2 separate regions of the Homo sapiens genome follow, and region 1 is linked to region 2. Evidence: promoter capture Hi-C in human tissues and cell types (Jung and others, 2019). All regions are on one chromosome and are shown on one strand. Each heading gives the region's core, a stretch centred on a gene start or on the middle of the fragment in contact. The rest is flanking DNA. Distances are from core to core; before and after follow the strand shown. Region 1 overlaps SPATA6L (spermatogenesis associated 6 like). Region 2 holds the start of SLC1A1 (solute carrier family 1 member 1).

Region 1 (3,779 bases), core at 156-2,655, 150 kb after region 2:
TGCCCCCCTGTGTCCATTCCTTTTTTCCCACCTTTGTAAACTGAAGAACAGGAAGGGTCTTTATTTCTTGGCAGCAAAGATCACTAGACTTCTTCATTCTTTAGCAGTAAAGCTATATGCACATCTGGATATTATTACTTGTATTATTAATTTACTTGTACCATTAACTTAATGATCATAACATGTCTTTTGAGTATAAGTGTGTTTGAAAGCAATGAGAAAAAATATCAAGCAATAAATACAGCTAAATGAAAAGGTAACAATTCAGCCAATAGAGAAATTGGTCCCTGAGAACCCAAATATGGCCCATGTGACCCCACAGTGCAGTCCACAGGAAACTTTAAGAAAAAAAAAAAATTTTTGCTAGTATCAAGGATCAGCAGATCATGAGGGCTCACTGCCACTACTACGTGCCCGGAGCCACCAGCATCACACTAGGAAGACTGGCACAGTGTAGATCATGTGCAAAGTATGCCTGTAAAAACATACCTTGAACAAATTAATGGATCAAACTGTACTACATCTGAAGCTAAGTAAAATCAATTGTTATTTTGAGCAATTCAAATTTAATTCCACTAAAATTATAATCTGAAATTGAGAGATTGTAAATTAAAAAAACAAGTATAACACAGTTCCCATTGTGCATCTTATTAATTTTTGAGTTATAACCAGTATTTATGCACTCAGCTAGAATATTCTGCAATCATTCTTTTCAAACAACTATTCTTGCAACCTTTTCACAGATGGGCTTCTTGTCACATGAAAAACATATAGCACTCCAAGACATATTAAGTTTTAACAAGCAAGTTGCAGAATATATATAGTCAACATATATATAGGTGTGTGTGTATATATGTTGAAAATACATATTCTGCAACTGACTTTTTAAAATGCAGTATATCTTGGACTGTCATATGTCTTTCAAGAGACCAGAAAACCAACATTTAGTATATTCAACAACCATAAAATATATACACACGTAACTATATATACTAAATACTAAATATATTCGTGTTTATATATACTGTATTTAATATATAGTCATCCCTAAGTATCCACAGGAGGTTGGTTTCAGGAACCCTTGCAGATATGAAAATATCCATGAATGCTCAAGTCCCTGATATAAAATGGTGTAGTTGCGGTGAGTTGGTCGAAGGTAAAAAGAGCATAATAATAAAACATTAAAAATAAGAAATAAAATGGTGTAATATTTGCATATAACCTATGCACATCCTCCTGTATACTTCAGATCATCTCTAGATTACTTATAATACCTAACATAATGTAAATGTTATCTAATAGTTGTTATGCTGTATTGTTAAGGGACTAATGACAAGAAAAAGTCTGTACATGTTCAGTACAGACACAACCATCATAGGCCTAACTACATTTTCGAGTAATGGTTAGCCAAATTCATGGATGTGGAACTTGACAATCAGAAGGTCCAACTATATATAGGGTATGCGCGTGCATGTGTGGTTATTTTACGGTTGGCTGAATGTACTAAATGCATTTTAGAAGGTTTAAAAAGACACACATCAAATTGTTTTGTTCTGTTTTGTTTTGTTGAGACAGGGTCTCACTCTGTTGCCCAAGCTGGAGTGCAGTGGCAAGATCACAGCTCACTGCAGCCTCAACCTCTTTGGCTCAGGTGACCTCCCCAGCCTCCCAAGTAGCTGGGACTACAGGCATGCACCAGCACACATAGCTAATTTTTTTATTTTCAGTAGAGATGAGGTTTCACCATGTTTCCCGGGCTGTACCTGAACTCCTGTGCTCAAGCAATCCACCCACCTTTGCCTCTCAAAGTGCTGGGATTACAGGCGCAAGCCACCATACCTGGCCCACATCAAATTGTTAATGGTAATTATCTGTCAGGGATTGTTGAATGGGCTTTTGACATTTTCTTTTACATACTTTCGTGTTAAATTTTTTATAGTGAGATTACTTAGGTATTGAGTAACTTTTTTAAAATCCATGTAAAATTAAATAAGACCAAAGTGGGCATGCTTCTACTTCCTCAGCATACTAAAATATAATGTGCCAGCAGTGATATATGTTTGAACATAAAATTGGGTCAAATAAGAATAAAAAACTTATGGAAAAAAACTCAATGCCCTGATTTCAGCCTGTCACTTTTAGGCTGAAAAACATTCAGTGAGAATTTCTGAAAAGTAGTCAGGAGGCACCTGCTCAGTTCCGTCTACCTATGAAGGTAATGACATCTCCAAAAGCACCTATTCTTAAATTCACAGAGTGGGGTTCTTTTCTGTCTCCAGCGGCAGCCTTTGCCAAAGAACCAAGAAGCAGAAGAAAGAACTACAGACTCCTGGGTTCACTGCACTTCACTTGGGCCCTTGACCTGCTCCAGTGATATCCACAGCAGGCAGGACTATGATCCCTATCAAAAGCCTCCTCAGTCCTCTTTGCTTTAGTTGAGACATTTGCTAGTCTCATCTTCCTTCTCCCATGCTCTCTTAAGAAAAAGAAAAGCACACACCATAAAACATCAAAATAACACAACAAAACAGGGAAAATATAACTGTTTTAAGCATAACTGATTGAAAACATTGTTAAAAATAAGAATTTATAACAAAATCAACATTTATATCCAGACATCACTCCATAAGTAATCAAAGGACAGTGACAGTCACTTTATACAGAAGGAAAGAAAGAAAACAAATCATAATATGGGAAAATGAAAATTTTTAAGAAGTTTTAAATTTAAGGTTGTCACAGTCACATCTAAAAGGGAGATAGATCATAAAATAGGATAAAATATATTTTTATCTATTTATTTATTTAGATGGAGTCTGGCTCTGTGGCCCAGGCTGGAGTGCAGTGGTGCAATCTTAGCTCATTGCAACCTCTGCCTCCCGGGTTCAAGCAGTTCTCCTGTCTCAGCCTCCCAAGTAGCTCGGATTACAGGCACCTGACATCATTCCCAGCTAATTTTTGTATTTTTAGTAGAAACAGGGTTTCACTATGTTGGCCAGGTTGGTCTCAAACTCCTGACCTCATGATCCGCCCACCTTGGCCTCCCCAAGTGCTGGGATTATAAGCGTGAGCCATGACATACTTTGCAAACACAACAAATCCAATTGACAGTATCCAGCATTAACTAGGATATGGGGAAGGGGCATGCCATGCACTCCTGGATGCAGTAGAAGTATTGGAACCTTATTGGGGATCAGTTTACCCCAGTTTAAAAGGCATGGTTCAATCTAGTAATTCTATTATTTGTAAATATACCAAGAGAGAAATATTTTTATAAAAATGTGGAAAAAAAGAAAATCTAAATGCTCAACAATATTAATTTATGGATAACACCACCACTATGGAAAAATACACAGCTATTGAAAATGACAAGTAAACTACAGGTAATAATGTAAAGTAAGAAAAGTAAAACCCAAAATACTATGGAAATACTATTTATAGACCTATAAAAAACACATATGTAAATTAATAAAATTCTTTATAGCTATCAAAATAATGATGTAGGCCGGGGGCAGTGGCTCACGTCTGTAACCCCAGCACTCTGGGAGGCCGAAGCAGGCAGATCACCTGAGGTCAGGAGTTCGACACCAGCCTGGCCAACTTGGTGAAACCCTGACTCTACAAAAAATACACAAAAATTAGCTGGACGCATTGGCAGGTGCCCATAATTCCAGCTATTCAGGAGGCTGAGGCAGGAGAATCACTTGAACACGGGAGGTGGATGTTACAGTGAGCTGAGCTTGCATCACTGCACTCCAGCCTGGGCAACAGAGCTAGATTCT
Region 2 (3,886 bases), core at 966-3,465:
CCAATATGTTTATTTTACACACATGTGATCAAATTGTACATGCAATTTTAGTATTTCTTTCTTCCCTTTATATTTATAAATATAGATTTATAACATGTGCCATCCCATGCTGTTAAAAACTTCATAAACTTCCTTTATGTAGGCTGCATAAGGTACTGTTGCTTGGCAGTTCCATAATATATTTACCATTCCATTTATGTTGGACATTTGCGTTTTTTCCAGCTGTTTTTTTACTGTGGGACAAATCTGTTCTCTCGCGCACGCTCTCTCTCTTTTTTTTTTATGAGACAGGGTTTCCCTCCGGTCGCCCAGGCAGGAGTGCTGCAGCGTGATCTCGGCTCACCGCAACCTCCACCTCCTGGGTTCAAGTGATTCTCCTGTCTCAGCCTCCCGAATAGCTGGGATTACAGGTGCATGGCCCTAAACCCGGCTAATTTTTGTATTTTTGGTAGACGGGATTTCCCCATGTTGGCCAGGCTGGTCTCGAACTCTTGACCTCAAGTGATCCGCCTGCCTTGGCCTCCCAAATTGCTGGAATTACAGGTGTGAGCCATCGCGCCCGGGACTATTCTCCCTTTCTTGATAGTTTCCCTTCTGACATTTCCTTCCTTCTTTCTTTCTTTTTTCTTTTTTTTTGACAGTCTCGCTCTGTCGCCTAGGCTGGAGCGCAGTGGCTTGATCTCAGCTTACTGCAATCTCCACCTTCCAGGTTCAAGCGATTCTCCTCCCTCAGCCTCCCAAGTAGCTGCGACTACAGGCACGTGCCACCACGCCCGGCTAATTTTTTTGTATTTTTAGCAGAGACGGGGTTTCACTGTGTTAGCCAGGATGGTCTCAATCTCCTGACCTCGTGATCCGCTCGCCTCGGACTCCCAAAGTCCTGAGATTACAGGCAAGAGCCACCGCACCCGGGTCCCCTTCTGACATTTCTTCAGATCTTCCTCGGACACCCAACGACCTTAAAATCCCTCTAACCTTCTTTCTCTCAAAGTTTACTTTCTATAAAGAGCTGATAAACTCATTCATACTAAAGTCTACAGGGTTGTAAATCTTAATCTATTATCGCTTAAAAGATGCTTGTATCAATTTACACCAAAGGGATGAAGCTCTAATTGTGGGGATTTAGTCATCAGAAAATCTAGTAGGGGAAATTCTCCCTACCCACAATCAGAGTAGATTCTACAATAGCAAAAAGGGTTCCAGGCTCACTTAACTTTAGGAACGCTGATAAGAAGACCGCTTACAGCTGCGGAGGTACTGATTTGGTAAAGGGAGGGAAAGAGATTGTATACGTGAGAGTGAAAAAATTGGGTAGAAAAATGGAAGAGCATCAGAAATTCACTTAGCAACACCAAATATATTTGGCACCACTAACCTAGTTTCTCCTGTGTTTGCCTTTCCAATCCGTTGGACCTTAGGGGATGGACCGCCCACTTTCTCCCCAGAGCGGCTCCCGGGTCCGGTTCTCAGTTCTAATCACTGCCCCAAGCCTCCATGCTCCAGGGCCTGTGGTCACAGAGCAAGTCCCAAGGAGCAGAAGTAAAGTTCTAAGAGAAATCACCATCTCCTTGTGCAGGGAACACTCCCAAGCCCAGTGTCCACAGACAAATCACCTCCAGCGACTCGAAGAGGAGAATAATCCCTGTGGGGGCACTGGAGGCTCCGCGTGAAAGTTTCCAAAGCCATGTTCTGCCCCAGGACTCCTTTCTCTCCTCCCAGAAGCTTCAGGCTTTCGCGGCTGCTGGCACATCCCAGCCTGAGTAGCCGAGCAAGAGGGACCCAAGGCAGGATCAGCTTCCCCCGACTTGAAAGGGCACCCGTTCTGCAGGTGCCGGCGCTGGAAATAGCTGGTGTGGAGAACGGAGAGGGAGACGTGCAGGATGAAGTCCGCGCCCAGGAGGGCAGTGGCTCCGCCTCTCTGGGTTAGGGACAGAAGAAAACCCTTAACCCAAAGCCCTAGCATGAGTGAGGCGTGGAAAGCGAGACAGACTCCAGTGGAAGGCTGTGGGGCGGGACTCAGGGTTCCCGGAGAGGCCGCCCCAGCTCCTGCCGCAGCGCTGGGCGCCCTACCACGCCTGCTCCCTAGGGACCCCGGGCGTCCCACGCACGCACCCACCCTCCTTCCCGGGCCTGCCGCTCCTCCCTCCTTCCTCGCTGGTTGGCCCAGGCGCCGCAGAGCGCGGCGGCAGCAGGAGGAGCCGGGCGCGCCTGCCACGCAAAACTACCGGGCTGGCAGGGCGGCGGGCGCGGTGCGCGATCCCGGGTGGCGGCGGCAACGGCGGTGGTGACGGCGGCGACTGCAGCGGCCGGCTCTCACCTCTCCCCTGTGCACCCGCATCTCGCCGCGCCGCCGAGCAGCCAGCAGTCCCCGGGTCGCCCAGCCCACGCGCGCACGGCCGAGCCCAGCGCACAATAGCGGCGACAGCCATGGGGAAACCGGCGAGGAAAGGATGCGAGTGGAAGCGCTTCCTGAAGAATAACTGGGTGTTGCTGTCCACCGTGGCCGCGGTGGTGCTAGGTGAGCGGCGCGGCGGGTGGGCGATGCGCGCACCCTCACGCGCTCTCTGCGCCCAGGCCGCGTGCGGCTGAGGGTGGGCTTGGCGCTGGCGCACTCCATGCAGGGTCCCTCGATGCCCCCTCGGCCTTAGCCTCGGGCCCCCTGCGGGGGCTTTCCCCCAAGCGCTCTAATTACTGCACACCAAGAACAAAGCTCCTCTGGGACTCCCATTTGAGTGCTCCTTGAGCTGCTGGTTCCTGCTCTACCCAAAATGATCAAAGGGGCTTGGGGGTAGAAAGGGAAGCAAGTAGCTCTTGGTTCTGCTCGTTTGAAAACAGGGTTCGATTTTTTTCTTTGTTAATCCCGCACCGTATCTCCCCCTATCACCGCCACCTTCCTCACCCCACACCCCCAGCCTCGCTGCGCGGGCAGAGATTGAGTGTGGATTACAGTTCTCAGTCGAATTGGAAGAGGCACCCTGGCCTCCGGGATGGGCCGGACCCTTAGGGGAGGGAGGCTGAGAACGCTGTCGCCGCTCATCCTGGGCAGTGCGTGGAAAGGTGCCTTCCCACGCGGCGAGCGCCGACTGCCTGCACCCGGGCTCTGAAAAGCTGCCAGATTCGTGCCTGAATTCTGGGATGTGCCACTGTGGCCCGCGGGAGGTCACCGGGGAAGAGAGCTAAGAGAACTCAGCCGTCTCTTCTCCTGCCTTCCTTGCTCTCCACGTTGTTTTTGTATTTAAGATAATGTTTAAGCCATCCTTGCCTGTTTTTAAACAAGGGTGTATTTAAGTGATCCACCCCTCACAGATCACTGGACCAGGTGGATGTCTGAGCCATTGCTCAGAGGTATGAGTTATTCCTATTTAGATTCTGATTTTTTACCAAGGTTGTGTGTTTCTAGCTCCGGCCCGGGGATGCACTTCCTTGGGATTAGCGCCATATCTGTCGCCTTCCCAGTGATAGCTCCTCAGCAGGTGAGGGCTGTTGCACCCTCTGAGGAATGTGGATTCCTCGGCAGGCTCCACCTTCCCCTTGGAAACTGCAGCTGTGTTTGCTGAAAAGGCAAGTGGGGACAGCTTGTTTCCTCCCAACCTCAGGTACCTTCCTCTCCAACTGCTGCTCCTAAATCTCAGAATATATGGTGTTGCTTGCTTCTCCTCCGAACCGCCCCCTCCCCTCAGGGTGGGGATAGGGCATGGAAATGGCCTTTGGAAGTTAATGGGATTCTTGGGGTCAGATTGGATTCTCCAGAACCTTGGGGAAAGGAAAGTCAGGTTTCTAGTAAATAAATAACATCCTGGAATGGCCCTAGCAGAGGCTATTTGTAGGAGGAAAGGAGAGAAGTACAGAAGCAAATCTTGACTATTTCCCCCAAGAAGTGCCAAGT

The links. The method cuts DNA at HindIII sites, captures the fragments that hold promoters and counts their contacts. A contact is called where the count stands out against the background at its distance.
Region 1: a fragment that was not itself captured here is called in contact with the fragment with the promoter of SLC1A1 in region 2 in 1 of the 25 tissues and cell types used here (heart right ventricle).

Annotation. Positions count from the first base shown.
Region 1 is chr9:4,640,223-4,644,001 of GRCh38, forward strand. All of the region lies in intron 3 of SPATA6L (spermatogenesis associated 6 like), which reads right to left. Among named protein-coding and RNA genes, the nearest start is that of PLPP6, 20 kb to the right of the region's middle. The HindIII fragment of the contact is 6,593 bases long and covers 1-3,779 here.
Region 2 is chr9:4,488,253-4,492,138 of GRCh38, forward strand. SLC1A1 (solute carrier family 1 member 1) reads left to right here and starts at 2,216. Exons shown (of 12, transcript NM_004170.6): 1 at 2,216-2,518. The coding sequence starts at 2,428. It also overlaps a transcript of GLIS3 not described here. RefSeq lists an enhancer at 1,814-1,863 and a silencer at 2,014-2,443. The HindIII fragment of the contact is 11,033 bases long and covers 1-3,886 here.